3 separate regions of the Homo sapiens genome follow, and regions 1 and 2 are each linked to region 3. Evidence: promoter capture Hi-C in 16 types of primary human blood cells and fetal thymus (Javierre and others, 2016). All regions are on one chromosome and are shown on one strand. Each heading gives the region's core, a stretch centred on a gene start or on the middle of the fragment in contact. The rest is flanking DNA. Distances are from core to core; before and after follow the strand shown.

Region 1 (3,768 bases), core at 33-2,532, 660 kb after region 3:
TTTGAGAAGAAAAGAGGGATGACTTCCAAATCTTACTCTCCCACCCTCACTCTCCTACCTCTGTTCAGTCTAGTATCTCCATCTGTCCTATTCCCAGCTGACACGCAACAAGAAAATAATCTGCGCTGTGAATCATCAAACTGTAACATACTTTTGATTCCTGCAAAATATTTCCCATTCTTTTTCTGAAATTGTAACCTTGGACCAATCATGTCTCTGTACAGTTTATCTCTTCTATATTATTTAGAAGCAGTAATGTTGCTTTTTATTTCTTTCCTTCTCATTTACCTTGTTGGCTTAGAGTATTAGTAAAGTTTAGTTCACACCCATTTTCCTTTTCAGTTCTTTGCTGACTTGATTATAATTTATTTTGTTTTTCCTCAAAATTCTATAAACTGATTCTGATAACTGTTCCTATATTCCAGCATTTATTTTAGTTTACACTATACATTCTTTCATTTCCTCTTTTTTGTTTTTTTCTTTTGCTTCAAACATTCTTTTTCTACAGAATCTGTTGGGAATTAATAGGTGAAGTTTAATGGGAGGGTAAGAAGAAATACATATCAAGCATCTACTCCGTGCACCCAACATTATAATGGATGTTACCCATACATTAGCTAATTAATATATGTTACGATCTTATGAAATCATTATTTTTATAGAACAGGAAACTGGGTCAGTACATTTCTACTTACCTTTTTATTGTAAAAATCTAAATGCCTTTAACTTACTTTATAATTGTTAAATGTCAAGATTTCCTTGACATTTCTGAGATCTTTTAAACAAATGCAGCATATCCGTAGTTATAATTTTTATTATCAAAGACAAATGCCATTAAATGTCTGCTTTATAAGAACAATATTGAATGCTATAATATTAAATCTAATGATTCTTTTTCCATTACAAGTTTAAGAAATTAGTGTTTGCTTTATTTTGTGTTTATTTTCTGTTTAGTCAGTTATTCTCAGTCAACAGTGTAGATACTATAGAAACGTTTATACATTTTAAAAAGTCTTCAGAATTAGAGACATTAGTGTGTAGTTGTTATAAATCCACAGTATTTAGCTGTGTCTATCTTGGTTATTGAAGCATACATCATGCAAGAAGTCAAAAAGAACACCCTTCAAATACTTTCTGCCAGGCCCAGAGTTCAGTGCATTAATACTTGCATTAGTATAACAAGCTTAAGAGGTAGGTACTAATACCTCTTTCGACAAATGAGAAAAGCAAGTTCAGTAATGAAAGTTTACTCAGCTGTTTTAACTCCTGGGAATATAAATGTAGAGGTAAGATTGCAATCTTGCAGCCTAACTCCAGAGCCCACTGTAGTATACTCTTTCCTAAGTCCAGAGTTTTATATGCCATAAACAAATATTTTAATACAAGCTTGTATTAAGGGAACAAAATGAGATTAGGAAAATTGTTAATGCCAGATATATTTGTAGATATTTTTAAATATAAATGGATAAATATTAATGCACACGTATATACATACATATATAAATTTATATATGTGAGAAAAATCACTCCTGTATAACCTGGCATTTTATATAAAGCAAAATACTTATGTCTCTGATCAAATTTCTTAATATTTCAAGTGTGATTAATTTTTTACAAACAACAAATATCCATTAAATGTTTCTAAAATTGCTGTTCAGTTATTTGCACAGTGATGGCATGTTTAAAATTTATGTATTATCTGCAATATCAATGTTTAATGTCATATTTATACCTATAAGCCACAGTTCAACATCTTCTCAACTTATTTCAAGTATGAAAGTGTAAACATTTTAAAAATATGCTGAAATTTAAAAAGTAATTTTACAGAAATTAAATTTAGGGGTGTTAGTCATCCTGTAGGGGAGGGGTCTCAAATATGTTTGCTTTTTAAAAGCTTCAACACTCAGTGCAGAAAATATTAATCTTCAGTCTTGATTATTTTTCAGTGGACTGCTGCTTCATATTATATTTTGTTTATAAATGTGCTCTGATTACATTTTTATTATTTTATTAATATAAAGGCAATTAACATATTTTTGTGTTTTTTAAACATAATCTAGTTGAGGAAGAGGATGGCAAGACTGCAACTCAACCACTGTTGAAAAAAGGCAGGCATTTTTCATCATTTTATTTTAAACCCTTTTTCATACTGTAAACTCTTTAACTCCAACCTTATTCCCTTTTTTTTAACCTTGGTTTTTATTTCCATGGTGAGGTAATGTTACAGTTCTATAAATGCAGATTAGAAAAATTATTATTAGTCTAACTAAAAAGTTAAATATTCTCAGGAAATGGAGTTATATCACAAATTCTTTTCTATTATCACAGCATTTCTGAAATATTAGACCCAGACAGCCGGTATTAATTTTTTTTAATTTAAACTGCATGGTTTAGATGATAAGTAGGGACACTGAAATAGGTTTTATTTGCAGTGTCACTTGCATTCTTTACCATCAGTTGTACCCAGCCAAGTCCTCAATTTTGATACTAATGTATTTTTCATTTCAAAAATTACAATATTTCTCACAGTCGTGCTGCGTTTGGGAGATACACAGTCATGTCAACATACATGAATTTTATGAGAAGGAGATAGAGGTGAGAGTTATGGAGCAGTGTGGTTTGGTAGCCATATTATTTCATCGTGCAAAATCATTTGTCATGTTTGCATATATCACAGCAGCATGAAAAGTGACATTCTACAGAAGTGATCAGATGTCCTCGTATGGATTTCTGCTTTTAAAATTTTGGTGTAGGAGTTTCATGATAGTCATTTGCTTGCTCACAGAATCAATGCTGTTTTTTGTTTTGTTTTAACTCCTGGGAATATAAATGGGAACTCCTTGGTGTATTGTTCTCAGACCTGCAGCAGATGGGTGCCCTTTGAAGGAGCTCCCACCATCTTTCTGTGGTTCAGAGAAAGATGTGGTTATATGGCTTTAGAATTGGGTGCCACATATTGGGGACAAAACATAGGTAAAAATGAGAAGTCTTTCCTTAGACTAAGGTTTCACTGTGATAATTGTAAGAATGTGTTAGTATGTCTTCAACTCCCATCTTTCATTTATATTGCAGATAACAACTTTGTCTTTTAAAAAGTTTTGAGCTTTAAATTATTGAGATACCAGATTACCAAAGAAATAGTTTCACAGAACAGGTATAAACTTGATTTGTCCAGTTTGACTAAAACAGCTTTTCAAAACAAAATCTAGCAGCTCACTGTAATTTTTTTTATTGTTATTTATGATTCTCTTACATTCATTCAGAATGCTTGAAAATATTAGTAAGTAGGCAGATAATTTGGATTGGTTTAGCTATTGTAAAGAGTTATTTCTCTCTAGCCATTTATAAAGTATACTTTTATTATAAACAACTGAAAGTTTATGGTAGATGCCGTATACAATTGTCTGAATTATCTGTAGTATAAACATCTGAATATACAAACATTAGGAAATGATAGGAATTCAGCAAAAGGGACTTTAATATTTACTTTGCTTACATTTTATATTTTGCTTAATCCTTTAGAATCCAAAGGCCCTATTGTGCCTTTAAATGTAGCTGACCAAAAGCTTCTTGAAGCTAGTACACAGTTTCAGAAAAAACAAGGAAAGAATACTATTGATGTCTGGTGGCTTTTTGATGATGGAGGTAAGGTTGTTAATTTTTTTAAAATGATTTTAAATTTACTGACATTGTGAGAATAGTAAGAAATGACATGCACTCTTTACCTGTGGACCCCATTCAAATTTTGCCAGCATTCCCAAAAGCAAA
Region 2 (3,971 bases), core at 161-2,660, 560 kb after region 3:
TGTGTAGACAAAAGTAGGGATAAGAAAGAAAGACTGTTTTTTAAATGCATTTGTCATGAATTTACTACCTGGGTAAGCAAAAAACTTGAGCTGTCTCTTTTGAAAGACATAATTTACAAATATGAATTTATATATTGTCTAGAGGAAAAGCACAGTACAATTTCAATTAATGTTTAATTCTATGACTGACTAAAATCTTTATAATATTTTTAATTAAAGAAGAAGGTGACCGGGACTTAGGTAAGAAAGCAAAATTATAACATTTACTACATAACAAGTTTTTTGTTTTTTTTTTTACATAAACAAGCTTTGTTTCTTACAAAAAAAAACAAGCTTCTTCTTTTTTTTTTTTTTTTGGATACAGAGTCTCACTCTGTCGCACAGGCTACAGCATAGTGCCGCAGTCTCGGCTCAATGAGGCCTCTGCCTCCCGGGTTCAAGCAATTCTCATGCCTCAGCCTCCCTAGTAGCTGGGATTACAGACATGCACCACTACACCCAACTAATTTTTGTATTTTTAGTAGAGACAGGGTTTCCCCATGTTGGCCAGGCTGGTCTCGAACTCCTGGCCTCATCTGATCCGCCTGCCTCGGCCTCCCAAAGTGCTGGGATTATAGGCATGAGCTACTGTGCTAGGCCTATAAAAAAGCTTCTTTAGGGTAACTTTTTTCTTTTTTCTGTAACAGAATAATCACATTATTTCTCAAGGGAAATACCATTTACTCAATTTGTACTCTGAATGCCATCTAATAAAACAGCAAAGCCACAACCATGCAGAATGTCAGCACAGCATGTCTAACTAAAACTCACTGTAAGAAAAAAAAGGAAAAGAGAGCTGATTTCAAAGGTTCTACATGGCTTTGCACTTCACATGCTCTGATGCTGCAGATATGAGAAGTTGTAGGTCTAACATAATTTATATCTTCTTTTAGGATACTTTGGCATTTGTGAATTGAGAAGTTTGGAAAACAACTACGCAAGTCACTTCTAATCCTAAAATTCCAACTACATGAAATAAATATTAGTAAGTACTCAGACACACACAATGTCAAAGGCTGGCCTTGTGGCAAAAAGGAAATACAGCAAAATCAGTCAGGTTCCCACCACGGCACTGATAGCAAGTCTGTTCTCAAGGTTAGTCTCTAAACTGACACCTGGTAAGTCTGACAATGAAATATTTGCCAACAATTAAGTAAAGGAGATCTCTCCTGATAAATTTTTCATAAGTTTCACATAATACACTTTGATATTTCCTGGAATGTTTGTGGCCCTCCCCTCACTGCATTGCTCTCTCATTTTGTTGGCTAATACATGTTACTAAAGTCAATATATATTCAACTCATTTTTCTCTGCCTCTTGGCCCAATTTAACACAGCTGATCCTGTTTTCAAATGCCTTCATCTGATTTTCTTCTCACCTCCTGACCTTTGTAGGTCTTTTATGTGCTCATTAATGTTGGAATTACTTATTTTTTCCTTAACCAAGTTTTTCATCTGTAAAATGGATGTAATCTTATGATTTTCTTCATAGTGTTGCGAGAATTCAGTAAGATTATGAATGTATAGATTTTGGCACAGTATCCAGGACCTAAATTCTCTATAAAGGCTAACTACTATTACTACTATCAACTCACAGCTAGATTAGTGAAATTGTGTCCTGACTTTCCATGCTTATTCTTCCTCTTCTCCACTCTTCTGCTCATAATATAACTAGTTTTATTTTTATTTATTTATTTTTTGAGACAGTGTCTCACTCTGTCGCCCAGGCTGGGTGCTGTGGCACAATCATAGCTCACTACAACCCCCACCTCAAGTGATCCTCCCACCTCAGCCTCCCAGGGAGCTGGGAATACAGGTGCGTGCCACCACGCCCCACTAATTTTTGAATTTTTGTGGGTTTTTTTGGTAGAGATGGGGTTTCATTATTGTTGTCCAGGCTGGTCTCGAATTCCTGAGCTCAAGCCATATACCCGCCTTGGCCTCCCAAGTGCTGGGATTACAGGTGTGAGCCACCTTGCCAGGCCTAGAGAGTTTTAATAAGCACAAATCTGATTATGTGCCCCTCAATCTATCCAGAAACCCATTAATGCTTTTATAGGGCTTTTAGAATACAGACACATCTCTTACTACTTTTGCCCCCAATCCTTCCCTATGCTTTAACCAAACTGATTTCAAGCTTCTTGCTTCTTTGATAGTCCCTGCTCACTCCATGAGGGCATTTGTCCACAATATTTCCCTTGTTGGAAACCCTCTAGTGACAATTTGGTCCTAATTTTCCTTTAGACCTTTGCTAAAAAGTCACTTCTGTCTTGACTAAGTCTGGCCTATTTTGCATTTTCCTTATACTACGTTCCTATCCCCTAGAACTTCTGTTTGCAGTTACAAATTTATATGAGTGACTACTATTTATTATTAATACACATTTGTGTGTTTCTTCCAACAGACATCTCAGACTAAGCTCCTGATATTCATCCAACCCAAACCTGTTCCTTTAACCTCCTTTGCCATCTCAGAAAATAGCAATACTATTCTTCCAGTTGCTGAGGTCAAAACCCTTGGACTCTCACACTTCACATCCATCAGCAAATTCTATTGTTTCCCCAGAATTCAACTACTTTTCCCCATTTCCACTGATACCCACTGTGGTCAAAGCGCTATCATCACTTCCTGGATTGCTGTAATACCTCTTAACACATCTCCTTGCTTCTTTGACCCAACCATTTATCCCTTGCCTACCTACAAGACAGCTAGATGAATCCTTTAAAAATGGCAGATGTCATTCCTCCACTGAAACCTTCCAATAACCTGCCATCTGCCAAGGACTGTTGTGTACCCTGCTAAATTAATATGTTGAAGCCCGAATCCTCTCCTCACTCCTATGTGACTGTATTGGAGACAGTCCTTTTAAGGAGATAATTAAGGTTAAATGAGGTGATCAGGGTAAAGCCCTGATTCCACAGAACTGGTGCCCTTATAAGAAAAGAGACAACGCTCTCTTTATCATCTGAGGAGACATTGAGAAGGTACTGTCTGCAAGCCAAAAAGAAAACCCGAACATGATCATGCTGGCATTCTGATCTCAGACTTCCAGCAGGCAGAACTGTGAGAAAATATATTTCTACTGTTTGAGCCACCCAATCTATGTATTTTGTTATGGCAGCCTGAGCTGACTAACACACTATTCTACTAAAAAAGTCAAGTATGTCTAACAGCCAAAAAAGGTCCTAAACATTCTGATCTACTACATCCCATATCCTAAGCTCTCTGATGTAATTGCCTTTGATTCTTCACATCTCTTAAGCAAGTTCCAGCCAAACTGGCTTACATGCAATTCCGTGAGCATGCTAAGCATGCTCCTGCCTTTGGGTCTTTGGTTTCCCTCTGCTTCAGACACTTTTTTTCCCAAGAACTCATATCACTCACTTCCTTACTCAAATATCACCTTCTCAGTGAGGCCATCCTATGGAAAATTTTATGATCCTCATTTCACACAAATATCCCATTTCCCTTTCCTTAGTACTCACTGCTTGGATGCTATGTATTTTACCTATTTATCTTGTCTATTGTTTCTCTTTCTCACTAGAAAGAACTCCATGAGAGATGGGATTGTCCGTTTTGCTCACTGCTATATCCCGTAAATACAGAGTAGCTCATAGTACCTGTTCAGTATTTATTCAACTAAATGAATGTTGAATTCCAATAGTGGCAGAATTCGTTGTGGAGCTGAAAGGTACTGCACGGATCAACTACTAATGCAGCAATTCCCTAGTAGAAAACTGCACTGCTTAAAGGACCACCTCATTTTTCTGGCCTCCTCTGGTTATTACTAAAGCTCAAAAGGAGCTTTAAAAATCCTGATGCAACAGCTGTTTTCCCCTCTCACCGTCTTTAAAAATAGAGATAATAAAATAGCCTGAAAAGTTGTCAAGTTCAAGTAAGATCATGTTTATGACAATTTTTTGAAAATTGCCT
Region 3 (3,851 bases), core at 701-3,200:
TCACAGTCCTGCTTCCCTGTTGTCTGCGCACATGCCGAGCACACTCCATCCTTAAGTCTTTGCATGCCCTTCTTTCTGTCCGGATAAGCACAGGCCTGCTGCATTACACGTCTCTGCTCACATCTCACCTATTCAGAGAAGCCTTGCCCATTCATCCTATCTGAAGTGGTCTACTCCAATTACTGTCAATATTACATCACTCTTTGTTGACTCCTCAAACTGCACATCACAAACAGTACTTACTTTATTTTCCTGTTCCTACCCTCTCTCCTATTATAAAGAACGCTCCCTAGGTATCAAGACCTTGTCTGTCTTGTTCGTTACTGCATTTCCAGTACCAATGCTCAGCACATTGCAGCCACTAATAAATATTTGCTGAAAGGATGGAGAAACCAACATACCTTATAGCTATTAAGGGTGTTGATCAGAGAGGATGAAGATGGTTATCTGTCTTTAGCACCACCCCAAACAGCACGATCCGGACAGTAACCTGGATCTCCACCTACACACATTCTTAGAGGATAGGAGCCACCGCCAAAGAAAACCGCCCATGGTAGTTGCACAGTGAGATCTGAAGTCAGAGTATTGCTACATAGTATTAACTTTTCAGTGAGGTATTTTGGAATGCTTACAACTGTGAAGCTCAAGAGATAGATTAATGTGAAATCTCTAAGTGAGTTCCTGAAAAAAAATTGAGAACAACAAAAACAATTTTTTATATATTTAATGCTAAGCAATTTAAAAAATGTTTTCGGACAGGTGCGGTGGCTCACGCCTGTAATCCCAGCACTTTAGGAGGCCGAGGCGGGCCGAGGTCAGGAGTTCGAGACCAGCCTGGCCAAAATGGTGAAACCCTGTCTCTACTAAAAGTACAAAAATTAGCTGGGTGTGGTGGCCTGTGCCTGTAATCCCAGCTACTCGGGAGGCTGAGGCAGGAGAATCGTTTGAACCCGGGAGGCAGAGGTTGCAGTGAGCCGAGATGGCGCCATTGCACTCCAGCCTGGGCAACAGGGCAAGACACCATCTCAAAAAGACAAAAAGTTTAAAAAATTTTCATATGCTCTATTTTATTTGAGTCTGTCACCTGCCTGATTTAGGGATGGTGGATAGTATTATTCTCAGTTTGCAGGTAGAAATATGAAGACTTATGGAGACTAAGTGACCTGTACAAGGGCAGGCAACTGTACAACTGGCATTAGAGTAGTCTCAGACTCAAATCAAGACTTCTGATTTGAAGTTCCTTATTTTCCTCTATCGCACTCCATTAATTTATTTAATGTACATTATTGAACACCAACTATTTCAGGTACTGTGTTAGGTGCAGCATATAATAAGAAAGTTGATAATCTGTCTATTTTACAATTAAAAAAAGAATGTGCAATACATGCACTTGGGGAAAAATTCAGTACAGTAACTGCTACTCTTCTCCCCTCTCCCTCTTCTCCTAATCCCTCTCTCCTGATATAATCACTGTTATCTGGAAATCTTTGACTATACAGGCTAAGTCCCCTGTATCTGCCGCGAGGTCCTTCCTGGAGGTGCTGACTGGACTAGCTGATGTTGGCTAGATGACCGCCAACCAGATGACCTTGGCTAACTGATCTTATCCCTTGGGCCGCTGTGGCACAGGATGAGTGAGCTACGCCTGGTAACAAGAGTGCCACTCTCGTGTAAGGGGGCTGCGAAGTAGAAAGGAGGCCAGCCCTTTGGAAGATGTTTCTAGAGGGTGTGGGCAGAACCAAGTCTCGGTAGTTAGGAAGATCTTGGCTCCAAAGTTTAACTTGCAGCGTCCCGGCCGGGTTCACAGCGCATGGGACAGGGGGGGCGGGGCGATGCGGAGGCGGAGCGGGGCGATGCGATGCGGGGCGGAGCGGGGCGGGGCGGCGACGCGCGGCGCGGTGCGGCGCGCGGCCGACGTGGCAGCCGCAGGAGCATGCGCCGCCCGTGGCCATCTTGTAGGCGGGGACACGCCGAGGTAACTTCCAGGGTGCGCCTTCGTTGTCTTCTCCAAGCTGTAGTTCTACGTCCCGACCTCCCTATCATACCACACTCTTCAGCGACCACGCAGGCACTTTCCCGGTCCCCAGGTGAGCGCCAGGTGGCTCCGAGGGGCGTGTATGAGGGGGGTGGCATGGCATGGCATGGCTTGCAGGCGCCAGAGCCAGACCCCGAGGGACGGTGTCCCTGGAAGGTGGGCGGGCCGGCCGGCGCCACTGGACGCCGATGTCGTTTGCGAGCCCCCTAGTCCCGTGGTCCAGGCTCAGCTGTGGCGGCGTGCGGGGTGCAGCAGGCAGGAGTGCACATCGCAAGGTGAGCAGTTTCCGCTGGGGATGGCACGGTGGGCGCGGTTCGAGGGTCTCGCCCCGCGACACTTTGCTCCTGTCCAAGGACCAAGGCAGGAGCGCTCTGGCCCCACCTTCCAGGGCGCTGACTTTAGGGGAGACTGGCGGGAGCGCCGGCGGACCTTAGCCCGGCCCTGTCTGGCCTGGAGACGTGGCAGAGCCTGAGGGGAAGCCGCTGTCTCCTGAAACAGGATTTCGGCCGCTCTGGCCCTGGAGAGGCCCAGGAGGCTCGAGAGTCATCACACCAGGACCTGCAATGAAAGGAAGCTTATTTTCCCTGAGGTTACCCCATCGGTGCTTAGCGCCGCTTGGGAGAGTTTTTGCATTCTCTCGTTTCTTTGTTTGGTCTTGGGACCTGCTTCAGGCAAATTTGCAGATAGCACGTTTCCTAGATTGACAGAATTTATAGCCAATAGTGTTTTTGTCATTCGAAGTAGTTATTTTGAGAGACAACATGTGCATTTCTGCGATCGTGACACATCTTGGCATTCAGTCTTTCTCCTGTGCAGCCAGTGTTTAATTCAGTGAAAATTTATAAAATTTTATTTCGGGGTCAGATTAGGCTCTAACTAGCGCTCACTGTTTGGTAGTAGAGACAATCTTGTGGCACGAGTAGGTCAGCAATAATTGCTCTTAATGCTTTAAAGTTTATCAGAGCTTCACTCTTCCATTTCTTGTAAACTTGTAAATAGACATCCACTTTTTTTTTTTTTTTTTAACAGAAAAACCAAGGCACAAGCAAATTGGAACAACAGGGTCTAGCCGGACTGAGAACTCAGTTTTCCAAACCATTTTCTTCACTTTTTCTTTAGTGTTGATATATGAATAGTACTTTTCGTGACAAGACTTGAGCCCTAAAACAGTTACCAACTCTGACACTTCAGTATTGTTTTATCATAATAGGTTTTTTTAGTAGAAGGCACTATGTTTATGCATGTAAAATTTACCTCAGTATTGCCATTACGGCAGTTTTCATATAAAAAGCCATTAAAGACAAAGAAATTGATTATTTATTCCACTTAATGACTTTGTATTCATTGTACAGTTTCTTTTGCAGACACATTTGTTAATGTTAGGGATTCTCTTACAATAGGACTTCTACTAGTCATTGTAAGGATTGGGGAGCATCTGTAGTAGAGGGTGAATGACCAATAAAAAATTAAATGAAGAAAAGAGGGAGCTTTGGTTGAGGAGTGGTAAAATCTCCAAAGGGGCATTTCTATCTCAGGTTATTTACCTTCGATGTATAGGTACTGAATGAAAGGATTCAGCCTCCCCGGATCCCTGTTCTCTGCTTAGTGCCATAGATCTTTCCTACGTTCACAGCCAAACTTTTTGAAAGTGTCATGCGTGTTAGTCTCACCTGCCACTGCTCGATTCAGTTTACACTGGAATCTTTCTCCACTCTTTATATGAAAACCGTTCTCCCTAAATTCATCTCCAGTTTGGCAGATCCATTGAACTTCTCAGATAGTATCCTATTTGGCTTCTCTGCAGCATTAATACTGT

The links. Contacts are between HindIII fragments. The CHiCAGO score rates a contact against its expected background, and 5 or more counts as called.
Region 1: a fragment that was not itself captured here is called in contact with the fragment with the promoter of PRRC1 in region 3 in 1 of 17 cell types (total B cells); the score reaches 7.2 in total B cells.
Region 2: a fragment that was not itself captured here is called in contact with the fragment with the promoter of PRRC1 in region 3 in 6 of 17 cell types (non-activated CD4 T cells, fetal thymus, total B cells and 3 more); the score reaches 6.2 in non-activated CD4 T cells.

Annotation. Positions count from the first base shown.
Region 1 is chr5:128,175,045-128,178,812 of GRCh38, forward strand. SLC12A2 (solute carrier family 12 member 2) reads left to right here. Exons shown (of 27, transcript NM_001046.3): 21 at 2,061-2,108; 22 at 3,523-3,645. Among named protein-coding and RNA genes, the nearest start is that of SLC12A2, 93 kb to the left of the region's middle. The HindIII fragment of the contact is 203 bases long and covers 1,182-1,384 here.
Region 2 is chr5:128,077,983-128,081,953 of GRCh38, forward strand. The region is part of intron 1 of SLC12A2-DT (SLC12A2 divergent transcript); the gene reads right to left. Among named protein-coding and RNA genes, the nearest start is that of SLC12A2-DT, 3.2 kb to the right of the region's middle. The HindIII fragment of the contact is 1,526 bases long and covers 648-2,173 here.
Region 3 is chr5:127,515,690-127,519,540 of GRCh38, forward strand. PRRC1 (proline rich coiled-coil 1) reads left to right here and starts at 1,951. Exons shown (of 9, transcript NM_130809.5): 1 at 1,951-2,087. RefSeq lists a silencer at 1,819-1,888 and an enhancer at 1,949-2,128. The HindIII fragment of the contact is 4,735 bases long and covers 1-2,607 here.